4 separate regions of the Homo sapiens genome follow, and regions 1, 2 and 3 are each linked to region 4. The links are contacts of gene promoters, found by promoter capture Hi-C in human tissues and cell types (Jung and others, 2019). All regions are on one chromosome and are shown on one strand. Each heading gives the region's core, a stretch centred on a gene start or on the middle of the fragment in contact. The rest is flanking DNA. Distances are from core to core; before and after follow the strand shown.

Evidence for each region. Contacts are between HindIII fragments. The study calls those that stand out against the background at their distance.
Region 1: a contact is called between the fragment with the promoter of SERTAD3 here and the fragment with the promoter of RPS16 in region 4, in 1 of the 25 tissues and cell types used here (thymus).
Region 2: a contact is called between the fragment with the promoter of PSMD8 here and the fragment with the promoter of RPS16 in region 4, in 2 of the 25 tissues and cell types used here (heart right ventricle and liver).
Region 3: the fragment with the promoter of HNRNPUL1 here is called in contact with the fragment with the promoter of RPS16 in region 4 in 1 of the 25 tissues and cell types used here (small bowel).

What each region holds. Positions count from the first base shown.
Region 1 is chr19:40,442,487-40,445,661 of GRCh38, reverse strand. SERTAD3 (SERTA domain containing 3) reads left to right here and starts at 1,327. Exons shown (of 2, transcript NM_203344.3): 1 at 1,327-1,447. It overlaps SERTAD3-AS1 (SERTAD3 antisense RNA 1), which reads right to left and starts at 1,145. Exons shown (of 2, transcript NR_187496.1): 1 at 1,034-1,145; 2 at 399-772. RefSeq lists silencers at 796-1,015, 1,076-1,395, 1,576-1,635, 2,101-2,480. The HindIII fragment of the contact is 14,341 bases long and covers 1-3,175 here.
Region 2 is chr19:38,373,022-38,376,404 of GRCh38, reverse strand. PSMD8 (proteasome 26S subunit, non-ATPase 8) reads right to left here and starts at 1,834. Exons shown (of 7, transcript NM_002812.5): 1 at 1,444-1,834; 2 at 173-245; 3 at 1-53. The coding sequence starts at 1,803. RefSeq lists enhancers at 1,525-1,664, 1,295-1,925. The HindIII fragment of the contact is 16,024 bases long and covers 1-3,383 here.
Region 3 is chr19:41,263,110-41,266,264 of GRCh38, reverse strand. It overlaps HNRNPUL1 (heterogeneous nuclear ribonucleoprotein U like 1), which reads right to left and starts at 1,893. Exons shown (of 15, transcript NM_007040.6): 1 at 1,467-1,893. The coding sequence starts at 1,761. RefSeq lists silencers at 1,368-1,417, 1,438-1,507, 1,598-1,837 and enhancers at 1,843-2,381, 2,382-2,921, 2,922-3,155. The HindIII fragment of the contact is 10,725 bases long and covers 1-3,155 here.
Region 4 is chr19:39,434,263-39,437,363 of GRCh38, reverse strand. RPS16 (ribosomal protein S16) reads left to right here and starts at 1,415. Exons shown (of 5, transcript NM_001020.6): 1 at 1,415-1,516; 2 at 1,656-1,757. The coding sequence starts at 1,469. RefSeq lists a silencer at 1,162-1,261 and an enhancer at 1,642-2,221. The HindIII fragment of the contact is 40,426 bases long and covers 1-3,101 here.

The DNA of each region.
Region 1 (3,175 bases), core at 78-2,577, 1.0 Mb before region 4:
GAGGATGAGGAAACAAGTTTAAATATCCAGAGGCGAGAAGATTGCTTGAGGCCAGGAGTTCAAAACCAACCTGGGCAACACAAGAAAACCCCCCTCCCCCCTCCCCCATCTCTCTGTCACCCAGGCTGGAGTGCAGTGGCACGATCTCGCCTTCACTGCAACCTCAACCTCCCAGGTTCAAGCGATTCTCCTGCCTCAGCCTCCCAAGTGGCTGAGATTACAAGCGTGCGCCACCACGCCCAGCTAATTTTTGTATTTTTAGTAGAGACGGGGTTTCACCATTGTTGGCCAGGCTGGTCTCAAACTCCTGACCTCAAGTGATCTGCCCGCCTCCGCCTCCCAAAGTGCTGGGATTACAGGCGTGCGCCACTGCGCCCGGCAAAAAATAATATTAATAATAAAGATCCAGAGGCCTTTTATTGTCATGTTTGCGAACTTATTATGTACCTGGCATTGTTGTAGACACTGGGGTAAAGCAGGGAAGAAAACAAACAGAGAAAATCCTTTCGTTTTCCTGATGGGGTGAATGGGAGCTTGAAGCCATTTTAGAAAAACTGGAAGTGACTCAATGGGGCAGGATCGGAGAGAACCAGGAGAACGCATCAAGCAAGGTCGTGAGGGGCTTTGTGGCAAAAGGAAGGAGTTTGAAGTTTGTATTCGGGGTGGGTAGGAAGCCATGAACAGTAGCAGAGGAGTCATCTTGATGGAGCGGGGAAGGAAAGAGGGTGTCAGAAGACCCAGGTGGGACCACCAGAGGACGTGCTGAGAAAACCTGAGGATTAAGAAGGGGCCGCGCGGTAACGTATAGGGGGCGGGAGGGGCAGCAAGGGGGCGAGGCTACGATCGCCTAGGCAACGCGGGCCGCGCCACTCTATTGGCTGGTCTTCCGCTACGTCATCCCCCGCGCCCCAGCGTCCTCCCTCGGAACCCCGGGGGCGCGGCCTCCTCCGGTTGCTCGGCCCCGCCCGCCTGCACAGCGACTTGGGGAGGGGCATGCCAGCCCCTCTGGCTCCACGGTGGAGTCCAGGCCTACCATAAAGGAACCGCAGGGAGCAATGGTGACGATCTTGGAGCGAGGACTGTAGCTGAGTGGAAGGAAGCGGTTCTGTTGGACCGGCCGCCCTCCACCCCGGAGTCGCTGCCCCGCCCCCTGCCAGTTGCACTTCTTTAAATGGCCCGGGGCGCTAGGGAGGGGTGGGCGGATCCGGCGTCTCGGGGCACGGGCGGATGGCTCCGCCCAGCCAATCGACGCCCCGCGGCGGGCGGGACTCCAGCCAATCGCGGCTCGCGGCTCGGCTCCGGGGCGGGGCTGGTGGGCCAGAGGCCAGACGGAGAGGCCCCGCCGAGGTGAGCGAGGCTCCAACCGGTCACTGGTGGGTCCTGGCACTGGCGGGTCGCAACGCTGTGGGCGTTCCAGGAGGTGGTCGTGGCGAACCTGGCAGCTGCGGTGAGGAGTGGTCGCCTGGCTTGGGAATTTACCTTAGGCTGGGGGAGAGAGAAGCGCGCCCCGGGGACTTGCGGAGGCGGGGTCTGGGTGGGACCGGGGGAGGGGGCCTCAGATTCAGGGTGATGATAGGGAGGGTCTGGGGACCTGAGACTGAGTTCAAGACCCAGGAGGGGAGGCGAGGTTGTTGGGGCAGTATTTTCAAGTGGAGGGAGTTTGAAGCTGGGACGTTGGGCTTTTGGAGAAGCGAGAGAACAGAGGGGAGGAACTTTTGAGACAGGGAACCTGGAGATTCGATTCCACTTGGGTCTTCCGGACGGGTTGAATTCGGGGCTTTATCGTGTTCTGGAAAAGGTGTGAGAGGTACGGAGCTGAGATTCTGAGTATTTGGAGAAGCGAGAGAACTAGGGTCAAGGATTCTTGGGACTCCAAGACGCACTGGCGGGGGAAGGAGGTTGCCGGGAAGAGTTCAATGTTCGGGTCTTGGAGCCGGACAGCGAGTTTGGAGGTGAAGTCCAGGGGCGTTTGAAAGTCAGGAGACTAGGAGAAGTGGGAGGAAGTATCAGAATTAGGATACGTAGTCTCCCGAACTAGATCGGAGCATTGTCGTCTTTGAGCGATGTGTTCGGATCTGGGTCTCTGGATCCAAGGGCAGTTTGGAAGGAGAATCGCGGACTTTCAAGGAACAGAGGGACCGGGAGAAAGCAAATTTAGAGCCGGAGTCTGGGGTGGGGGAGGGGTGTTCCGGGCCTGGAGCTCAGACTCGCGGCCCCGGAGGCAATGGAGGGCGGGGCTCGGCAGGCGCCGGCAGCTGGACGTCCAGGTTCCCTTCCCCCACCCGCCTGTGCCCCTGTGCGCATGCCCTGAGGGAGAGCGGGGTGAGGGGGGTGGCTCGTCCCCTGGACGGGCGGAGCCCTCTGGGGATTGTAGTGCGTGCTCGACGTCAATTCGTGTACCTGGCGGCTGTTGGCCCCCGTTTCCCAGAAGCCCCTGGGCCAAATTGGGGCGTTCCTGGATGCTCTGTAAGGACCCATGGGGGGGCGGGGCCTTACAGTGTCGCGGTCTGATTGAGTGGGACCTCCGAGGGGGCGGGGCTTGGTCTGAGCTGAGTTCTAGCAAGTTTTCCTATGGGGCGCGCTTTGGGGGAATCTGAAAGCGTGGGCAGAGGGAATGAGACAGGCCCCTTTCCTACTCTTGGGAGCGCTCCCAGTCGGTTAAGGAAGAGGACATAGAAATATCCCGACTGTTGAAGAAGAATCTCAACATAGGTTCCCCAACAGGGCTCCAGGAGATTTCGAATATAGTAGGCACTCAGTAAATCTGTTGAGCGAATAACTGGCAATTAACTCTTGATCGAGGCCGGGTGTGGTGGTAATCCCAGCTACTCAGGAAGCTGAGGCGGGAGGATCGCTTGAGCCCAGGACTTCGAGACTGCAGTGAGCTGTGATAGCGCTGCTGCACTCAGCCCTGGGCGACAGAGCGAGACCCTGTCTCTAACAAAAAACAAACACAACTCTTGTTCATTAAGCACTTCCGGTGTGGTGGGCCCTATAGATACGTGGCATCTCCTTGACAGAGGTGGTGAGAAGTATTTTTTTACAGTCCCTATTTTACAGATGAGGAAACTGAGGCCCTGAGAATTGACTCATTCAGATCACTTCCCATGATCACGCAGCTGAGCAGTTTCCAATACAGAATTCAGATTTGGGGTTCCCTACTTCCAATCCAGGT
Region 2 (3,383 bases), core at 585-3,084, 1.1 Mb after region 4:
GGGGATGTCCTTGCGTAGGATGCTCCATTGGGCCCCGATCTCCAGTATGTCACCTGTGGGTGACAGAGTGAGCTCTCAGGAGGTGACTGAGGTCTCTTCCCCAACCACCAGTGCTACCATTCCTGCCATGACCCCCAGATTATCACCCCCAACCAACCCCAGTGACACTCACGGGCCAGAATTAGCTGCTGTTTGGTCAGCTTGGTCCCTGTGGTTGGCAAGAAGTTGAGCTCCAGAAGAACTAGCTGATGGGGAGGGGAGGGAGGGAAGAAAGAAAAGAAGGGAATTCAAATACAGATGACTTACCTGCTCTACGCTCTGGTCTTCCCACTTGGAAAATGGAGCTAACCATCATCCAGACTCATGAGGAATGCTTTCTCATAAAGCACTCAGAACAGGGCCTGAGCACGCAACACATGCCCATTTAAGATTACATCACATTACAATTATTAATAGCCCCACTGGGGAAACAAGGAGGGACACTCAGTGCCTGACCCAGTGGAATCACGCGGCGGTGGGGACAGGAGTACATTCCATTCTTGGCCCATCTTCCCCACAATCTATTGGGGAAGGGGTAGCTGGGCTATCCCCAAAATCTATATCTGGGAGGGGGAGGTCCAAATCTCCCCCCACAGTTCAGCCCATACATCTTTCCTTAGCAGGCTCAGCAGCTTGTTCCAAGCCACTGGATTTACACTCCCTCCCAACAGATGTTTGGTCTGAAGCACTCTGGGCCCCGTATTCTTGTTCTCTACTTGTAAGAATATTTCTTCTAGGTTCAGTCCTGCCTTCACAACTAGGCTGCCCCCTCTCCCAACAGATGCGAGCCTAAGCCCCAGATCTCTCAGATCCTAACCCAGCCTGGTCTTAACCACACACCCTCTACACAGCCCACCTTTTCAGCCTCATTCTTTTATCACTCCGGGCAGTCCTCACTTCCCACTTGGTCTTGCCTGGAATCCACCATCAGGAAAAGCCCGAATCCCAATCCTGCCACTCCGACCAGTTAAGCCTCCACGCACCAAAAATCTAACCCCTCACTCAGTTCTGCCATAAGTCTTCCAATCATTCCCCCACCACCCCCGCGTGGGTCCATTCCAGTCATCTCTCACTTAAAAAAAAAATGTAGAGACAGAGTCTCGCTATGTTGCTCAGGCTGATCTTGAACTCCTGGGCTCAAGCGACGCTCCCCCGCCTCGGCCTCCCAAAGCGCTGCGATTACAGGCGTGACCATCAACGCTCCCTGTCCCTCTCTCGCTTCTTGACGCCCTCCGAGCCCCCACTTTGGCTGTTCCAAATCTTTCACCCCATCGGATCCCCCAGCCCGCCTCAGTCTCGCTGGCACCGAGGTGGCTTCCGCGGCCCGGGACTTGGTTGGGTCCAGACACCTCGTAGCGCCTCCCACGCCCGCAACACTCGGTTTCCTGGGCCTGCCGACTTTACCTTGAGTCGACCCAGCTCTTCCCCGCACTTGCTAAGATTGGGGCTTTTACGGTTCCACTCGCCCTTGAGTTGCTCGTACATGCCGGTCGCGGCCTGCAGAACAGCGCCCGAGGTTGCCGCGGGCCCGGAGCTCGAGAAGCCTGCCGCCCCGTTCACCGCCGCGGCCGCCATCTTGCGTGATGCGGCAAGCAGACCGCCTGATTTACGGCAGCGCCGCCTACAAACGCTTGCCCGGCGGAAGTGGGGCCGAGAGGTGGAGCCCAAGGCCCGGGGCGGGGCTACAACCTGCCTCAGCCCGCCCCGGGTAGCCCGCCGTCGCTCTCGAGGTGGCGCCCTCGGAGCCCTGCCCTTAATGAACATGTCAGTTGGAGCTCCGCCTCTGTCGTCACTCAAGATGGTGACCGGAAGTTGGCTTTTGCCCTAACTGAAAATGACAGCTGTCTCAACACCACCCCCCCTACCCACCTCACGGTTCCAATAATGAACATGGCTGCCCTGGCTTCAGTCTGAGTGCTCGGGACGCTACGTAGCTGTCCTGGAGGTTCCGCCTTCGGGGCAGCGTCTCCAAGCCAAAAGGTAGCGGGTGTCGTGCCATTTGGAGAGCTGTGTTATTCTCATTTTATAGACAGACTGAGAGGCTGGGTAACCTTCCAAAGGACTAACAGCTAGGATGTGTACCTGGGGCTCCCTCTCCAGTCTTTTTCAATGCATCCTTCCACATTTTTTTCCCAAGCTTATATGAACTAACTAGTTACAAAACTCATCCAGCTCTATGGCTTTCAATGTCATGTGTAAGTGGAGGATTCACAATTTTTTTTTTTTGAGACGGAGTTTAGCTCTTGTTGTCCAGGCTGGAGTGCAATGGAGCAATCTTGGCTCACTGCATCCTCCGCCTCCTGGGTACAAGTGATTCTTCTGCCCCAGCTTCCCAAGTAGCTGGGATTACAAGCATGTGCCACCACGCCTGGCTAATTTTCGTATTTTTAGTAGAGACGTAATTTTAGTATTTTTAGTAGATGTTGGTCAGGCTGGTCTCCAACTCCTGAACTCAGGCGATTCCCTGGGCCCTGGCCTCCCGAAATGCTGGGATTACAGGCATGAGCCACCTTGCCTGGCCAGTATTCACAACTTCTTATACCAACTTCTTCCTCCACTGATTGATATTACATCTGCACATTCAACATCGCTTTTTCTCTCTTTTTAAAAAAAATTAAATTTTTTATAGAGACAGAGTCTCATTATACTGCCCAGGCTGGTCTCGAACTCCTGAGCTCAAGCGATATTCCTGCCTTGACCTCGCAAAGTGTTGGGATTAGAGGTGTGAGCCACTGCGCCTGGGCAGCACGTTTTTCTCAAACCCGACTTTCACTCTCCGTCTCCACCATTTAGAATGTCATCTCCATGAAGGCAGGACGATTTCCTTCACTACTGAATTCCCAGTATCTCAGTGCTTGGCAAATATTAGTAGACAGTCAATAAATATTTGTTGGCCAGGCATGGTGGCTCATGCCTGTAATCCCAGCACTTTGGGAAGCCGAGGCAGATAGATCACTTGAGGTCAGGAGTTCGAGACCAACCTGGCCAACATGGCGAAACCCCATCTGTACTGCAAATACCAAAAAAAAAAAACAAAAAAACCAGCTGTGCGTGGTGGCACACACCTGTAATCCCAGATACTCAGGAGCCCGAGGCAGGAGAATCGCTTAAACCCAGGAGGTCAGCTTGTAGTGAGCTGAGATTGTGCCGCTGCACTCCAGCCTGGGTGACAGAGTGAGACTCTGTCTCAGAGAAAATAAATAAATAAATGTAAAAATACCAAAAATTTGCCGGGCGTGGTGGTGCACATCTGTAGTACAGCTACTTGGGAGGCTGAGGCAGGAGAAGCACTTGAACCCGGGAGGCAGAGGTTGCAGTGAACTGAGATCGCCATTGCACTCCTG
Region 3 (3,155 bases), core at 644-3,143, 1.8 Mb before region 4:
GACAGGGTTTCACTATGCTGGCCAGACTGGTCTTGAACTCCTGACCTCGTGATCCGCCCGCCTCGGCCTCCCAAAGTGCTGGAATAACAGGCGTGAGCCACTGCACTCGGCCCGAAAGCTGCTTTTTTTCTAACTGAAGATTCACGCCGTCCCATATCAGGTTTTCCTCTCCTCAGACAACCGCAGGTCTACCCGAACCCATTCCCAGAGTCACAGCTCCTGGCTGATGAAGAGTTCCGTGCTGCTCCCCGAGGGCCCCCACTCCCTGGGTACACAAATAACTGCTTCTGGGAACCGTCGAGATTTCTCCTGGAGACGCTCAGGTCCAGAAACATTCCCCACACTCCACTCTGAGGCCTCCAGTGAAGTCAACAGGTTTCTTTCTCTTTGCTCCCTACGGCCTCCCCCCTCCCCATATTCGCTAAGCCAGATACGTACTCCTGTGCTGGACACAGGATCCTCTGTCTCCCGCCACATATTTCATCCACTTGGAATGTTACCAACTCATCTGCCCCCATCCCACCCCCAGCTACCCTCTGTTCTCCAAAAACCCCACAGTTAGCTCCAGACCAGTCAGCAGCAGCCTCAAGAGTTATTTGCCCTCAGTTTTCTTAGCTCTAGACCCCCAGATCCTTTGTCCAGGAAAGCATCCTCTCCCCCGCCAGCCTCTGGACACCAGGGCTCCCTATACCTCTTCTAGAAGCCAACCAGAAAGTCCCCAGATCTCCCAGCACCTAATGTCCAGGCTGTGCCTGCTTCAAGGGTGGCCTTCCAGCCCCGGAAGAGAGATGGGGGTGCCCCCTAGTTCAATCTCCCGCAGCCCCTAAATGCTCACTAGCCAAACTCCAAAGCACTGAGTCCATTAGGACCCTCCCCAGCCACAGACACCAGCGCCTCCACCTCTCCCACCCACCCCCGTACCCAAATAGGAGAACGCCCAGGATCGCATCCAGCGGCATATTCCAGGATCCTCCTTCCTCAGAACTCTCGCAGCCCCGCACACCTGGACATTCCTTCCCCACCCTGGAAACACGGCTCCCCACCCCCCAGCCCACACGCTGGGCTAGCACGACCGCCAAGCCCACGGAGCTCCGTACCCTAGGATCCCCATTTTCGAGACCCTCCCCAACCCAAACGGAAAACCTCTTGTTCTTCCGACTCTCTTCGGCTCCAGAAAGCAGTTTCCGGTCTCCGATCCCTACGGTACGGAATCCTCCCCGCCACCCCCGTCCCTCACCTCCGAAACCCAGAGGCCCCTCCCCCAGTGTCCCCCCTGCACTGAGTGTCAGGATCCACCCTCCGGTCGTGCTGGGGCCCTGGTCCCCAGATCCTTTTCGGCGGCGGGTAGCGGGATCCCCCGATCCTCAGGTCGTCTCCCCGACCTCAGGCGCTGGACTCCCGCGTCCCACAGCCCTTTCCTCGGCCCAGGCTCCGGGCTCCCCGGCCCCCGCCCCGCGCACTCTCACAATGTCCGTCCGGCCCCGAGTAGCCGCCGGGCTCCGCGTGCGGCTGCAGCCCGGGCGGCGGTGGCTGCGCGGTCCCCTCCAGCTCGGAGCCCCCCTCGGTCTCGACCTCCTCGTTGATGTGCCCGGGTCGCCCCGGTTCGTCGTCGGCGTCGAGCTCCCGCTCGTCGTCAGGCTCCTCGGCCTCCAACGCCGCCTGCAGCCGCTCAGCAAGCTCGGCCTTGAGGCCTCGAGTGTCCAGGCCGCGGCGCTGCAGCTCCTCGCGAAGTTCGTTCACCTTCAGACGGCGCACATCCATGGCCCGGGCCCCCGGGGTGGCCCCCGAGCCCGGCCCGGCCTCCCAGGGCTCTGTCCCCCTTAAACCTTTCCTGTCAGGAGGCGAAGGGGGAAAGGGGGGGGGCCCACTCCAATGGCGGCAGCGGCTCAAAATGGCCGCCGCCACCGCCTCCCCCCTCACTCGTGCCTCGTCCGATGTTACATGAGTGCCAATTGGTCAGTGCGTGGGGCAACGGGCGCGGGCCCGGAAACCTAGCCAATCAGAGCGCCGTTTTCAAAACAACGGCCACGAGAAGGCCTAGGAGCTACTGGGGAGGAAGCGTTGGCCTACGTCGAAGCCGAGGCCGGAGCGGAGGGCGGGAAAAGGCAGGAGGCGGAGCGCTTGCTGATTGGGTAACTCTCGCGCGCCGGCTGCCGTAAGGTCCAATGAAAATAAGGGAGTAACAATTTGGTCCAATCAACGGTAAGATCTCAGAATGAGTGTCCCACGGCCTTTCCTGCGCAGTCCTTTCATCAAACTAAGTGTCTCTGTAACACACATTCCGATTGGTGTACATCTCCCGCCCCTTGAGGAGTCCGAGCGGGTAAAACCACTAGAACCAATCAAATGGAGGGTCGGCAGAAACCCCTCCTTCCTGTTGCCTTTAAGAAACCGGAAAGAGATGAATTCACCAGGAGCCCGCCCCTTGCCGTTAGGGCGGTTTCAAAACAATCTGCCCACCAATCGCAGTTATTGTCTTAGCTCACTAAAGCTGGTAGCGATGGCTCATTTTAGGAAAAGTTCACCAGATTGGCCGTGCTTCAGAGGACTGCCTCACAAATTTCGCTGTAGGAGGAGGTATACGAAATAGAGATTAAGTGGATACACAGTTCGTAATCTGGAAGGAACCCAGTTGCCTTTAGGAAAAGCAAAATTTTGAGTTGAGAGAGTCCCGAAGGTTTGGCTATAGAAACTAGACTAACAACGGGAGGCAAGTTGTAAAGGACACGGCCTCCCCTTCCCTTGGGTAGTCCGCGGCCGCCTTGCTCTATGGTCGGGTACCTGACGTGGAACGGGCGCTCTGCACGCGACCATAGAGCCTTCCCCTCCCGAAAGACATCCAGAAGTTCACCGACCGCTCTCCCGAATCCTCTAATCGGCTGTTCCCGTAAATCGGGCTGTCTGGCGTCTGTACCGACAAGCTCAACCCCACGGATCCGTCATTAACCTTCGCGCTCAGGAATACAAAAGCCACAGAGCTTCCCAGTGTCTAACGCTGCACCACCTGTCGCCTCTAACTCAAAACAAAACTCGAGTAAGACGCAATCGGGATACATGATGCAGACTCCCACTGCCTCCTGAGCCACACGTTAAGCCCGCAAAAGCCACACACTATCTCTACTCAGACAAAGGCACACCCCGCAGTCGTAAACAAA
Region 4 (3,101 bases), core at 166-2,665:
TGAGCAGAGATCATGCCACTGCACTCCAGCCTGGGCGACAGAGCAGGACTCTGTCTCAAAAAAAAGAAAAAAAAAAAACAAAAAACAGAGAGATTCGGCCGGGCGTGGTGGCTCACGCCTGTAATCCCAGGACTCTGGGAGGCTGAGGCGGATCACATCACCTGAGGTCAGGAGTTCGAGACCAGCCTGGCCAACGTGGTGAAACCCCATTTCTACTAAAAATACAAAAAACGACCAGGGCGTGGTGGTAGACGCCTGTAATTCCAGCTACTCGGGAGCCTAAGGCAGGAGAATCTCTTGAACCCGGGAGGCGGAGGTTGCAGTGAGACGAGATCGCACCACTGCACTCTAGCCAGGGCAACGAGCGAAACTCCGTCTCAAAAAAAAGAGAGAGATTCTAGGGTGGGGACGGGGAAGAGGTTAATTCTTGGGGGAGGGTCTCTTAGGAGAGGGGGATTCTAACGGAGGGAAAACTCCAGGGAAGGCAGTTGCTGGGAAGAGGAGTCTCGGAAGGGAAATAAACTCAGGAGAAAGGTAGATTTTGAGGGACGGGTCTCTGAGAGAAAAGTTTTTGTGGATTTGCGGGGCGGGGTGTTCTGGGAAAGGGGGATTTGCCGGGAAAGGGGGATTTGCCGGGAAAGGGAGATTCTGGAGGAGGGAGATTCCAGGGGTACTGGGTCCTGACAAGAGAAAGATTCTGGGAAGGGTGACTGAGGGGACGAGGACCGAATGGAGGGAGATTCAGGGAAAAGGGGGGTCTAAGTTGAGCACTCTTAAGAGGGACATTTGGGGTTGGCCATCTGAGAGAAGGATGGGAAACATTCTGGGAAGAGGAAACTGAAAGGAAGGACATTCTGGTGAAAGGGAGATTCTGAGGGGAAGGGGCTCTGAGGGGAAAAGGATTCTGGGAGAGGATCCCCAAGGAGGGGGATTCTAGGGAGGATAGGATTCTGGAAGTCCTTAATCTGAGAATCCAGCCAGATTTCTTGCAGTAGATTCCAAAGGAAGATTCTGATGCGGGGGATTCGGGGAGGAGGGAGTCCAGAGGGGAGAAAGATTACAGGTGTTGGGAGGGTGGGAACTGATTTAAAGAAAGGGCGAAGGGAGATTATTAAAGAGCCAGAATGCAAAGAAGAGCTGCGGTAGTCGACTACAGAGGACGCGAAGCACACTCCCGCAGCCTTCCCTTCAGTCCGCACACGACACTCCCAGGCCCCGCCCCTTCCGCCCACAGAGCCCGCCACTTCCGCCTCACAGGGCCCGCCCGCTCTGAGCGCCTAAGGGCCTTCCCGCCGCTGACCAGACGCCCCGCCCGTTAGCCGCAACAGAAGCCGTAAAGCTCTCTCCCGTCGCGACGCAGTGCTCAAGGCGCCTGCGCAGACCCTGAAAAGCGGCCAGGGTGGCCCCTAGCTTTCCTTTTCCGGTTGCGGCGCCGCGCGGTGAGGTTGTCTAGTCCACGCTCGGAGCCATGCCGTCCAAGGGCCCGCTGCAGTCTGTGCAGGTCTTCGGACGCAAGGTGAGCCAGACGCCGGATGGGAAGGGGAGGGGAAGGAGAAGGCCAGGGTCTGGGAGAGGTCGGTGGGCAGGAATCTAGGGGGTAACATGGGAGCTGGAGCCGGAGCTCACGGGGCCCCTGTTTCTCTTGTATCTTACAGAAGACAGCGACAGCTGTGGCGCACTGCAAACGCGGCAATGGTCTCATCAAGGTGAACGGGCGGCCCCTGGAGATGATTGAGCCGCGCACGCTACAGTACAAGGTGCTGGGATCCGGCACCGGCGTTGAGTGGATGGAGGACTCTTGGAGACAGAGATGTTGTAGCTCTTGAAAGCTGGGGGGGCTGGCATCAGCAACGGGATGTTTAGAAGTTGTGTTGGGTGTAGAACAGTGGGGTATTTGGCAATAGAGCTGGGCTTGGGGTTCAGAAGATGTAAAAGCTGAGATGGGGTTGTTGAAGATTAAGGGTTTGCTTTGAGAACTGGGATGTTAGGAAGCTCACCTCACTGGGGCGGGGGGACCCAAAGGGTGAAGGGACACCGACTATTTTTTATTTTATTTATTTGTTTTGAGAGGGAGTCTCGCTGTGTCGCCCAGGCTGGAGTGTAGTGGCGCGATCTCGGATCACTGCAACCTTCGCCTCCCGGGTTAAAGCGATTCTCCTGCCTCAGCCTCTTGAGTAGCTGAGATTACAGGCATGCACCACCACGCCCGGCTAATTTTTGTATTTTTAGTAGAGACGGGGTTTCGCCATATTGGCCAGAGTGGTCTCGAACTCATTACCTCAGGTGATCCACCAGCCTCGGCCTCCCGAAGTGCTGGGATTGCAGGCGTCAGCCACCGTGTGCGGCCGAATTTGGGTCTGTTTAAATGCTTGCTTGTAAAAGGGGTTCCTCTGTTCCCTTTTTGGGACTCTCAATTTCTTTGGCTCAGAATGGAAAGAAACCAGAGTCTGATTTCTGCCCCTTCTGAACTCTACTACTTTTAAAAGAAAGAATATCTACATTGCAGGGTCAGTTAAAAAAATTTTTTTTGAGTTATAAGGTTCTTTTTTAAAAACAGTATCTTGCTGTCACCTACCCTGGAGTGCAATAGCACAATCCTAATGAACTGCAGCCTTAAACTCCTGAGTTGGAGATCCTCCCACCTCAGCCTTTCGGTTGCCAAGACTACAGGCACATCACCACGCCTGGCTCATTTGAGAAATATTTTTCTGTAGACGTGGGGTCTCACTTTATTGCCCAGGCTGGTCCTTGGTCTCATGTGATCCTTCTGCCTGGACTGGGATTACAGGTGTGATCACCATGCCTGGCCTAGAATTTAATAAAAATTCTGAGATTTCCTTTGTGTAGCAGATGTTGAATGTTACTGTTATTGGCTGTCACTGTATTTGAAGGATTTGTATGTGTACCCTCTGTTGAGTTTTGGGGACATAGCAGTGATCCAGATGACTTAAGGTCTTGCCTTCATGGACCTGCCAGCCTAGTTGGGGAGAAGGACTGGGCCCAATACCAGAAGCTGATCCAAAGTGGTCAGAACTGGGGAAGGAGACCTGTGAGCTGAAAGCAGGTAAAGGAAGTATCCAGACAGAGGCACTGGTAAAAGA